2 separate regions of the Homo sapiens genome follow, and region 1 is linked to region 2. Evidence: promoter capture Hi-C in 16 types of primary human blood cells and fetal thymus (Javierre and others, 2016). All regions are on one chromosome and are shown on one strand. The core of a region is centred on a gene start or on the middle of the fragment in contact, and the rest is flanking DNA. Distances in the headings are between cores, read along the strand shown.

Region 1 (5,839 bases), core at 2,036-4,535, 260 kb before region 2:
GAGCGCAGGAAGAGGGGGCAGGCGTTTAGGCAAATTGGTTTCATTAACGAGTGCCCAACAGTAATCCGTGGGCAAACATTGCTGGGGATGAGGGGAGGCAAAGGAAGAGTTAATCCTGCTGACCTCTGGTCTCAGGTAGGCAGAGGAATCTCACCTGGCCTTTGTTCTGCACCTGGGAAGGTCCGCTTGGAATCCAGCTTGTCGGTGTGCATTCTAACAGACTAGCTTTGGGGACCGGGTGTTGCAGGCTAAAGTTGCAGTTGAGGTGTTCTTTTCTTGTTTATGGAAAGATAAACATCTTGGAAGGTTGGGCCAGCAAAGAGTGCTATGAATGTGGAGGCTATGGTCGGCCTGGGGCCCTGCCCCTCTCCTCAGCTCCTGGGGGCTGTCAGAACACCCGGTGCTTCCAGTTGCTCAGGGAGCGCCCAGGGTCACTGCTTTGTTCTTGGAGGCCTTAGCTGCTCCCTGCCTTGGGCCTGCTCAGGGGCCCCAGGCCTGCCCAGCAAGTCTCCCCAACTGGAGTCTTGGGGTTCCTTTCCTCTAGAAGGCAAATCTGCTCTTTGGAGTTTCCTGGGGTTGGGAAGAATGCCCGCCTGTGCTCACCTGCTGCTGTGGGTGGAGGCTGTGGGTGGAGGCTAGGGAGGCTGTGGGTGGTGGGTGGAGGCTGTGGGTGGTGGGTGGAGGCTGTGGGTGGTGGGTGGAGGCTGTGGGTGGAGGCTGTGGGTGGTGGGTGGAGGCTGTGGGTGGAGACTGGGTGGAGGCTGGGTGGAGGCTATGGGTGGTGGGTGGAGGCTGTGGGTGGAGACTGGGTGGTGGGTGGAGGCTGTTGGTGGTGGGTAGAGCCTGTGGGTGGTTAGAGGCCATGGGTGGAGACTGTGGGTGGTGGATAGAGGCTGTGGGTGGTGGGTGGAGGCTGTGGTTGGAGGCTGTGGGCGGTGGGTGGAAGCTGTGAGTGGTGGGGTGGATGCTGGGGAGGCTTTCCTGGACAGAAAAAGCGCTGAGTAGCACCCCTGAGGCGCAGCGGGAGAAACCTCTCTTTGTGCGGTAGCCAGGGGCGGGACAATGTGGGGTTGCCCATGTAGGTTATGAGACTGGAACCACATATTCCAAACACGGGTTTCACGAGGCCAGGCCCAGTGCACTGTGAACCCATCCTTACACACACACACACACACACACACACACACACCACAAATGCATACCTACCAAACGCATAGACACACAACACAAATGCACACCTACCAAACACACACACGCACACCTACCACACACCCATACACCCACATTGCACACACATGCACACCTACCACACCCCCACACACATGCACCCCTACCACACACCTACACACCACACACATGCACACCTACCACACACACACCACACACATGCACACCTACCACACCCACACACACCACACACATGCACACCTACCACACACCCACACATTCACACCACACACATGCACACCTACCACACACACACACCACACACATGCACACCTACCACACACCTACACACACCACACACATGCACACCTACCACACCCACACACACGCACACCTACCACACCCACACACCACACACATGCACACCTACCACACCCACACACCACACACATGCACACCTACCACACACCCCCACACATATGCACACCTATCACACCCACACACCCACACCACACAGATGCACACCTACCACACACCCACACACCACACACATGCACACCTACCTCACACCCCCACACACACCACACACATGCACACCTACCTCACACCCACATACACACCATACATAAACGTGCACGCCCATCATACCCACACACTGACACACACATTTGTGCACGGGCACACCACGCACACCACAGCACATCACATGCATGCATGTGTACACACGCTCCCCCCATGCATGGACGTGCTGTGAGCCTGGGAGCCAGGCTCTTGGTGCACTGTGTCAGGGGTGTGTAAAATGAAAGCTTTTTGAATTAGACACACAGGTGGCCATTCCAGAGCCCTCCTGTGCACATGTCATGTCGCGTTCAGTCACTTAGCGCTGTGGACGTCCCAGCTCAGAGACGGCAAGGAGCCCTGCATGGGTTCGCCCGCGACGGCGTGCTGGCTTGGTTGAGACTCAGAGGCTGGGATGTCCAGAGGCGGCCCCACTACATCCATTCTGCCCTCTGTGGGCACACCTTGCTCTCCCGCAGAGACTAGAAAGCCAAACACGTTTCCCAAACTCCTTTCAGCAGAGTGTCTGGAAGTGGCTTCGGTGCTGTCGAGCGATGCTAGGTTTATGGTTTGGAAGGAGGGCGCTCCTGTCTCTGTCGGCGTGCGACACATCCCCAACTTACAGCTGAAAACAGCCATCTTATTTTGGTCATATTTTAGGGTGAGGAATTCGGGGAGGGGTCTTTGGGGCAATTCTTTCCTGAGTCTGTCATATGAGTGTGTTCAGAAGTCACTGGGCTGTGAGTCCAAGATGGGACACCCATGAGGCTGGAGCTCTGGCGGGGCTGTTGCCTGGACGCCACACATGGTGTCTGCAGAGTGGCGCTCACAGGGTGCTGGGCTTTTCCGCATGGGGCTGGTCTCCTCTCGTGGAGCCTCCGAAGATGTCAGGTGGGAGCTGCAGGGCGTTTCTGACGTGGCCGCAGGAGCCCTGTGCCTCCACTCCCTTCTCAGACCTCACCTCTCCGTGGGACAGCCCCACAGAACTTGCAGAGCTGTTAAAGGCTGTTGCAGAGGGAGGTGGCACCCTGGGGGCCGCAGCAGCCCGGGGAGTGTGGCTCCCCCGCAGGCGTGGAGACTGGGCTCTAGGTGTTTCTGGGGCAACTCAAGCGGAGATTCTGGAGACGCTCACATCTGCTGGAATGCAGGCTTTTCGTTCGTAGAAACAGCAAGCGGCCATGAGTGTGATTAATTGGGAATTGGAGGTGAGTAGAGGGTTTCACGGTCTCCTAAACCAACCTGAGGAAACAGGTGGTCATTGTTGGCATTTAACTGTGAGTATTTCCAAAGCCCGCCGTAGATTGAAACTCACTGCCGTAGCTGTGCAGGGTGTGGACAGGATGGGGATGGGGGTTGGTCTCAGTAGGGAGGCAGGGTCCCCGTTTTTACTAACATCAGATTTACAGGATCAGCTCGACAAACAGACTGCTTTTTTCTGGCTGGCTGAAAATAAATGGGAGAGAGAAAATAAAACAATACTGGTGCATTAGTTATCTATTGTCACATTAAAAGAATTGCTCTGAAACTTAGAGGTTTACAACGTCAAAAAGCATTTACGATCGCAGTTTCTGTGGGTTGTTCAGAAAAGCCTGCTGGGTGGCGCTCTGTGGCGAGCAGGTCTATGCCACTTACCCACAAAGGCTGAGGGAGCTGAGAGGCTGAAGAAAAAGGCCGACAAATCCTGTTTCTCAGAAAGAAACATTCAACAGTGCGATGGGAGCAGAAGCCACGGTGCGGGCGGCCGCGAGATCCATGCATTGCTACCCGCGGACCCAGGGCTTAGGTAGCAGAGGGAAAGGGAGCGGGAGCTTCAGAAGGATGTGTAAGACAACTGGCCTACCCCTCAGGAAGAAGCAAGAATGCCGCCTGCTGGTCCACCCTCAGGAGAAGGCAAGAATGCCACCTGCACCGCAGCCTGTAACTCGCTTAAGGGCAGGATTTTGTGTTTACAATAACATTAAGGTTGTTTTGACCTAAGGACCCAGAACTAGGGTTCATCGGAAGTCCACATGGCGGGTCAGCATCCAAGATGGAGTCATTTTAGCCTTCGCCACAGGTGGTTCCGGCTGCGTGAGGCTAGATGTTGTCTGGGGTGAAGTGGTCCGAAGGCTCGGCTAGGGCTGGAGGACCCATCTCCTAGATGGTGCACTGTGCTGCCGGCAGGCAGATGCTGCCCTTTGGCGGGAGGCCTTGGATTCTTGGCACGTGGTCATCTCTGCACGTCTTCGCTGAGTGTCCTCATGGGTGGCCTCTTCCTCCACGCAGGGATCCCAGAGAGCACAGCGGAGGCTGCAGTGTTCTTTGCAGCCTCATGTCTGAAGTCACACAGTGTCACTCTGCCACATTCCATGTGTGGGGTGTGAGCCTCTAAGGCTGATTCTGCCTTTAGAAAGGAGGGGTATCAAAGACGTCGGAACATATTTCAACAAAGACATGACTATAAAAAATAAAATGATTAAGTGAATTATATCATATGTATAATTTTATGGCAAGAAATGTGAAAATTGAGAGGAAATACATTACCAGAATAAGTGGAAAACTTGGGTAAATCAAAAAAGGAAGAAATTGGCAAGTCCATTTAACATTTGTTAGTGCAAAATGTGCCAACACCAAATGGTTTTAAAGCTGACTTCTTCCTCATTGGTAAGGAACAAGTTCTTCTAGTATTTTAAAAAATATTCCAGAAAATAGAAAAAGGTGAAAATTTTTCCAATTCATATTATATAGCTAATGTAACTTCGTATCAAATTTTGATATAGTATGAGAAAAATATTCCAATTTATTTTGTAAAATGGACGCAAAAATCCAAATAAAATATCATAAATTTGTACACAGTCATTTATTAAGGAACAGCACACCATAGTCAAGCTTTGATTGCATACATGTAACAGTGACTTGATATTAGGAAGCAGAATATAATACATTACATCAGTACACTAAAGTACACAAATCATGTAATTATGTTGTAATTAGTGAAAAAAGTACTTGACGAAATTTAGCAGTCATTTCTCATAAAATCTTCTATTTAAAATAAAAGGGGGCCGGGTGTGGTGGCTCACGCCTGTAATCCCAGCACTTTGAGAGGCCAAGGTGGGCAGATCACTTGAAGTCAGGAATTTGAGACCAGCCTGGCCAACATGATGAAACCCATCACTACTAAAAATACAAGAATACAAAAATTAGCCGGGCGTGGAAGCACATGCCTTCAGTCCCAGCTACTCGGGAGGCTGAGGCAGGACAATCGCTTGAACCTGGGAGGCAGAGGTTCCAGTGAGCCGAGATCACGCCACTGCATTCCAGCCTGGGCGACAGAGTGAGATTCTGTCTCAAAAAAATAAAGTAAAATAAAATATGGAATTTAAATAATGCACCTACAAATCACACCTACTTTTTCAAAAAGGACAGATAACATATTAATTGATGAAATATTAGTGATCAGCATTAAAGCTGCGAAAAAGTCAGGGATGCCTGTCTCACTGCTACCCCTCAACCTGCATTTGGGGATCCTCATGGCAGATGAAGGCAGGCAGATGCAGTAGAGATTGTGCACGGTAGGCCAGAAGTGCTGACATTCTCCCCTCCCTGCAGAAGACAGGGATGCCCATCGAGAAGATCCAAAAGCTTCATTCATCTGATAACCTACAGAACCAATAAGATGCTTTGAGTAAGTGATTGAACATATAAAATTGCTTTTATGTACTGGCAACAACCAGTTATCATAGAAATTGAAATAATAACAATGAATTCTACATGTAACAGAGTCAAAAGCAACAAAATAATGCCTAAGAATATGTTTAATAGATGGCAAGATGACGAACCAGCACTGGCCACCGGCCCCTTGCCCCAGATCAACCCTGGGCAACGGCAGAAGGACACCCTGCCTAGCCCTCTTGGGGGTGGGGCTGGAGGCCAGGCTGGACACCCATTATATAGGATCTGAAAGTTCTTCTGAGGTAGGGCACGGCACACTGACACTCCAGAGATGAAAAGCAGAGCACTCTGTCACTTACAGCTCCAAACGAGGAAGGCGTCCAGGCAGGGCTGCATGAGGCACCCGGGGACAGGGTAGCAGACAGCTGGGGCTGCCGGGTGGCTGGTGTGTGGACAGCAGGTG
Region 2 (5,400 bases), core at 1-2,500:
CCCAGGGCCCCAGGTGCCATGCTGCAGGGGCGGTTCTGCCCTGCTGGGAGGAGCGAGCCCTGGGAGGTGCATGGCCCTCCTCTCTCCAACTGCAGAAAGGCCAGAAGGCTTTCAGCTACTCGGCTCAATACCTCAACCCCAAACCCAGGTGACCAGAACCCAGCCCTTCAGCTCTAAGCTGTGTGAAAGGGGGGCTCAGGTCCTCGGGAACTCCTAGGAACCTCTTCTAACTGATCACCTCTCCAACCTATATTCAGGACCAAGGACCAGAGAGGTCAACACTCCAGCCACAGAACAGAGTACCAGGAGAGAGGAGAGGGGTGAACACGAAACCGTGAGGGGCCAGGTTAAGAAATGGCAGGAGGGAAGCACGCTAAGCCCGACTATGAAGAGTTGATTCGGGGACCCTAGGAACCCCCACGAACAAAGGCATCAGTGAGGAATGCCCCCGGTAGAGAGGGAGGGGCGGGAGCGGTAAGAGGCAGGACTCCAGCAGTATCCGAAAGAGGTGCAGGCAGCGGGCCTTCCCTAGGGGAGGGGGCCAGGGACTAGGAGGAGCCCCCGGAGGTCCCACAAAGGCCGTGCTCCGGGGCCAGGGGCGGGGGCCGCTCACCCTGCGCTGGCACAGGTGCTGCACGACGCGCTCGGGTGAGGTGCCCAGCAGGTGCTGCCGGAAGCGCAGCAGCGCGCACACGAAGCCGTCCCGCAGGCTGACAAAGCGCGCCTCCAGGTAGAACGCGCGGTCGTCCCAGCCCAGCAGGCGGGTGCGCACCTCGAAGGGCTCCAGCAGGCGCAGCGAGCGGCGGTGGCGCGCGCACGAGGCCGCCAGCACCGTGTGCGCCCGCAACTCCCTCAGCGCCCCGAGCACCCCGCAGCGGGTCAGGTGCGCGACGCGCGCAAAGTCGGCCTCGCGCAGGTAGCGCGCGTTGTTCATGTGCAGCAGCAGGTCCAAGTCCGAGGGCAGCACGCGGCCCGGGAAGCGCTGCTCAGCTAGCAGGTCACGGACGCGCGGCTGCAGCAGGCGCGCGCGCAGCACGGCGCACGGAAGGCGCACCAGGTACCAGACGTCCAGCAGCGCAAAGACAGCGAGCCCCAGGGCCAGCAACGCCACCAGCAGCCCCAGCATAGCGGCGGCGGCGGGCGCGGGGTCCTGCGGAGTCCGTGGCGCCGGTGCCGGTGTCCGCGGCGCTGGTTACGGTGCCCGCCAGGCCTCCTGGGAACTCACGAGCGCAGCGCGCCCGGAGCGAACCACAGCGCGAGGGCGGCCGAGGGGGAGGGGCCCGGAGCCCCGCCCACCGTGGCGCGACCTTCTCAGCGCCCTACGTGGTCCGTCCCGCCGTCCAGGCCCGCGCCACTTTCGCGTTCCCTGGGGCGGGGCGGGCGGCGCGCTGAGCGCCACAGCGGCACCTGGCGGCCGTGCGCGGCGCTGCAGGCGCGAGGGTGCACGCGCGCCCCGGCGTCTCCGCCTTCCCAGCAGCGCGAGACCCTCGCCAGGCTCTGAAGACGCGGCCTGGCCCTGGCCGTTCGGCCCTTCGTCTGAGCGCAAAGGCTCCAGCACCTCCGCGGCCGAAGCCGCGGGACTTTTCGTGGAAAATGGGACCCAGCCCGATCGCCAGCGGCGCTGCAGCGGACTCTGCGGGAACCTAGCTTCTGCTCCAGGACCTCCAGGGCCACCCCAGCTCGCAGGGCGTTCGCAGCGGCTCAGGGCGAATCACGCTCATGGTCCCCGTGCGCATTTTCAGCCCCAGCCGGTACCTCCTTACTCGCCCTCACGACATTCATTCCACCCCCTAAAGGTCCTGCCAACCCCAGGCTCTTCCCGAGCATTCCCGCCCTTCCTCCCTTTTGAAACCGGAGCAAATCACGGCCGGGCGGAAGCGGGGGAGCCCGGGTGAGAGTCAGTGACTCAGCTGCGGACTCCAAGTGTCGCCGGAGGCCCTGGGGCGCAGGCCCAGCGGGCTGTCGCACAGCTCGGCTGTCCTGTGCCCCTTCCTGACGAGGCTGGGGAGGAAAGGCGGCCCAGAGAAGGCCGGACCAGCTCTCCCCGTCAGCCCCAGGCTCTCGAATGACAGCGGATGCCAGCGACCGGGGATGGGGTCCCGGAATTGCTGGGTTAAACAAGCTCCGGATTCAGGCCTGGGCCTGGGCTGGGGTTCCAGGGTTCTGGACCGCCCTCAAAGAAGGAGCTCCCTGGGGCGGCACCTGGCTCTGCTTGATAGCCCCAGGGACAGGGAGCTCACTACCTATCAGGGCAGCTCCCCCAGTGCCGAGACCAGCTCGGTCCTGGAGACCCTAACCCAGCGGTGCTAGAGGAATTAAAGATACACACAGAAATATAGAGGTGTGGAGTGGGAAATCAGGCGTCTCACAGCCTTCAGAGCTGAGAGCCTCCAACAGAGATTTACCCACGTGTTTATTCACAGCAAGCCAGTGATAAGCACAGTTTCTACAGATTATAGATTAAAAGTACCCCTTAGGGAAACAAAGGGATGGGCCAAAATAAAGGGGTGGGTTTGGCTAGTTATCTGCAGCAGGGGCATGTCCTTAAGTCACAGATGGCTCATGCTATTGTTTGTGGTTTAAGAACGCCTTTAAGCGGTTTTCTGCCCTGGGTGGGCCAGGTGTTCCTTGCCCTTATTCCGGTAAACCCACAACCTCCCAGCGTGGGCATCATGGCCATCATGAACATGTTACAGTGCTGCAGAGATTTTGTTTATGGCCAGATTTTGGGGGCCTATTCCCAACACCCTAGCATTGCTCACACTTGTCCCTGAAGTGTCACCTTGTCGTAGCTGGGCTCTGAGCCCTCTGCCCCAGGGAGGGGTGGCCTTTTGGGCTGAAGGGACTGAGGACATAGCCGTTGAGCCTGTTGGCCATTGCTCAAAGAATGCAGCCTCCTGGTCACCCATGTTGTCCCCTTGCCAACAAAAAGAGTGAAACACTGTGCAATGTTTGAAGAGATTTATTCTGAGCCAAATCTAAGTGACTGTGGCCTGTCACACGGCCTCAGAAGATCCTGAGAACTTGTACCCAGAGTGGTCAGCCTGCAACTGGGTTTTACAAATTTTAGGGAGACATAAGACATCAATGAATACTTGCAGGATGGACATTGGTTTGGTCCAGAAAGGTGGGGACAACTGGAAGTGACAGAGGGACTTCTAGGTCATAGGCAGATTCAAAGATTTTCTGATTGGCAATTGATTGAAAGAGTTAAGTTGACCGGGCATGGTGGGCCATTTCTATAATCCTTGCCATGGGGAGGCTGAGGACCATTTGAGCCCAGGAGTTAGATACCAGCTTGGGCAACATAGAGAGACCTCACTTCTCCAAAAAAAAAAAAAAAAAAAAAGTTATTTTTTAAAGACTTAGCATTAATAGAAAGGAATGTCTGGTTAAGATAAGGGGTCGTGGAGACCAGTGTTTCATGATCAGATGAAGCCTCCAGGTAGCAGGCTTCAGAGAGAATAGATTGTAAATGTTTCTCATCAGACTTAAAGAGTCTGTTCTCTCAGTCTTTAAGGGGTGTGTTGATGTTACTGCTGGTCAGCTGGGCCTGAAATCCAAAGGGAGGAGGGTACAGTGAGGCATATCCAACACCCATTTCCTGTCGTGGTCTGAACTAGTGTTTCAGGTTAACCCTGGACTGCCCTTGGTCAAGAGCAGGGGTGCATTCAGATGGTGGGGGTGCTTAGAATTTCATTTTTGGTTTACACCACTGTGTCCTCTCCTGCCAGGGGAGGGACCCAGAGCTGGAGGCTTAGCCCTGGAGATACCGGTGAAGATGGATGAATGAGAAACCAGTTGGAGCTTCCAAGGTCTCTACCCACCCTCCAGACCTCCTCTGCTCCTGCCCCTGCCCATTCATTCCCAACTTCTGCTCTCCCAGCTCCCCTCCCACCCACATGCTGTTCCCTCCTCTTCCATCTTCCGCTTCCTGGGCCCAGAGACTGGGCAAGATCCCCAGGGCTCTCCTTGCACAGCGAACCTCTCCCAGGGTGCATAGCCTTGCTGCAATCTTACACAGGGAATACATAAGCAAGGAATACTTCTGTCCCTCTTGGACTCTGAAGCCAGAAGGCCAGGGCCTGGTTGGCCTCCTAACTGCTGTGTCCCAGGGCCAGAGCAGTGCCAGACACCCAGCAGTCTTAGCACCCACGAAAGCTGGAGGGACCCACACCTTCCCCATCACTCAGTTGCATCAGTCTAACGCAATGGATTTGGGCAGCTTGTGGTGGTTCACTGGCAGTTTATTGGGGGACTTGAAGGAGTCAAGGTCAAGTGGGGGACTTCTGGGTGCCAGACCTGGCCCTTCCTTGGCCTGGGCTTGGGGTGTCCAAGCCCACAGAGCCATGCAGGGGGAAAGAGCTAGGCAAGCAGGGTGGTTGAGGAGGTCATTAGCGTGGCCTCGAGGGAAAACAATTCCAAGAGGAGCCCAAATTCGAATGTCCCCTGGTGTCATTGAGAATGGAGAGATTTAGGTTATGAATTGTGCAGTTGGTGGGTAGCAAGCCAGGGTCCTGAAGATAGTCTGCATATCCCCTGGTGTCATTGAGAATGGAGAGGTTCAGGTTATGAATTGTGCAGTTGGGGGTATCAAGCCAGGGTCCTGAAGATAGTCTGCATATCCCCTGGTATATATCATTTATATAAGGATGTTACTTAACTATTGCTGTCTTCCAGAGGCAGCTTCTTGAACAAATACTTGAGGTCCTCTATAGGTTTACGGGAGTAGACTGTTTTCTCCAAGCAGGCCTGTCGTCCATCAGGAGAAGCAAAAGGTTTTATTCTAGAGACAAGTCCTTCCAACTGTACAGCTGATGGAGTAGCCAAGGAAACCTGGTATGGACCCTTTCATTTCTCAGTGAACTAAGCCTCTGGGCTTCCTTTTCGCCATGTCTTGAGTAGGACCTGTGCACCTGGGCTAGCAGGGAAATGATCTGAAACTCCATGACCCGGCTGAGGTCACATCTTATTATCATATTGCAAGATGGCCTGCTGAACTTGTCCCAAGTTAATGATGTATTTTACCACCTGATTTAAATCTTCGTCTAGAAGAAAGTGGCTAGGAAGCGGCTAGCAACAGGAGGAGTGGGTTGGGCAGATTCATTCTGTCCCAGCTTCCTAGGATGGAATGAGCAGTCCCTTTCCCAGTGCCCCTCCTTCCTATGGTAGGAACATGGGTTACAGGAGCCAAGGGGCCAAGCCGCTCTGTCTGGGCCACCTGTTTGGCAGCTTCACCAGCTCAGCTGTCTCCTCGGCTGGTTAAAGAACTGCCTGCTGGGGCCCTTCATGGTGCATGACAGCTATCTGGGCAGGGAGCTGAACTGCCTCAAGAAGGGACAGAATCACTTTTTTATGTTTTATGGGGGAGCTCCTAGGAGTCCACAATCTCCTCTCTTT

The links. Contacts are between HindIII fragments. The CHiCAGO score rates a contact against its expected background, and 5 or more counts as called.
Region 1: a contact is called between a fragment that was not itself captured here and the fragment with the promoter of THEM6 in region 2, in 2 of 17 cell types (total CD8 T cells and total CD4 T cells). The highest score is 7.1, in total CD8 T cells.

The regions. Positions count from the first base shown.
Region 1 is chr8:142,986,031-142,991,869 of GRCh38, reverse strand. The region is part of intron 1 of LY6E-DT (LY6E divergent transcript); the gene reads left to right. Among named protein-coding and RNA genes, the nearest start is that of LY6E-DT, 29 kb to the left of the region's middle. RefSeq lists an enhancer at 2,633-3,134. The HindIII fragment of the contact is 2,620 bases long and covers 1,976-4,595 here.
Region 2 is chr8:142,723,073-142,728,472 of GRCh38, reverse strand. THEM6 (thioesterase superfamily member 6) reads right to left here and starts at 1,250. Exons shown (of 2, transcript NM_016647.3): 1 at 614-1,250. The coding sequence starts at 1,126. It overlaps LNCOC1 (lncRNA associated with ovarian cancer 1), which reads left to right and starts at 1,500. Exons shown (of 3, transcript NR_038925.1): 1 at 1,500-1,751. RefSeq lists silencers at 505-754, 1,055-1,494 and an enhancer at 1,525-1,744. The HindIII fragment of the contact is 9,584 bases long and covers 1-5,400 here.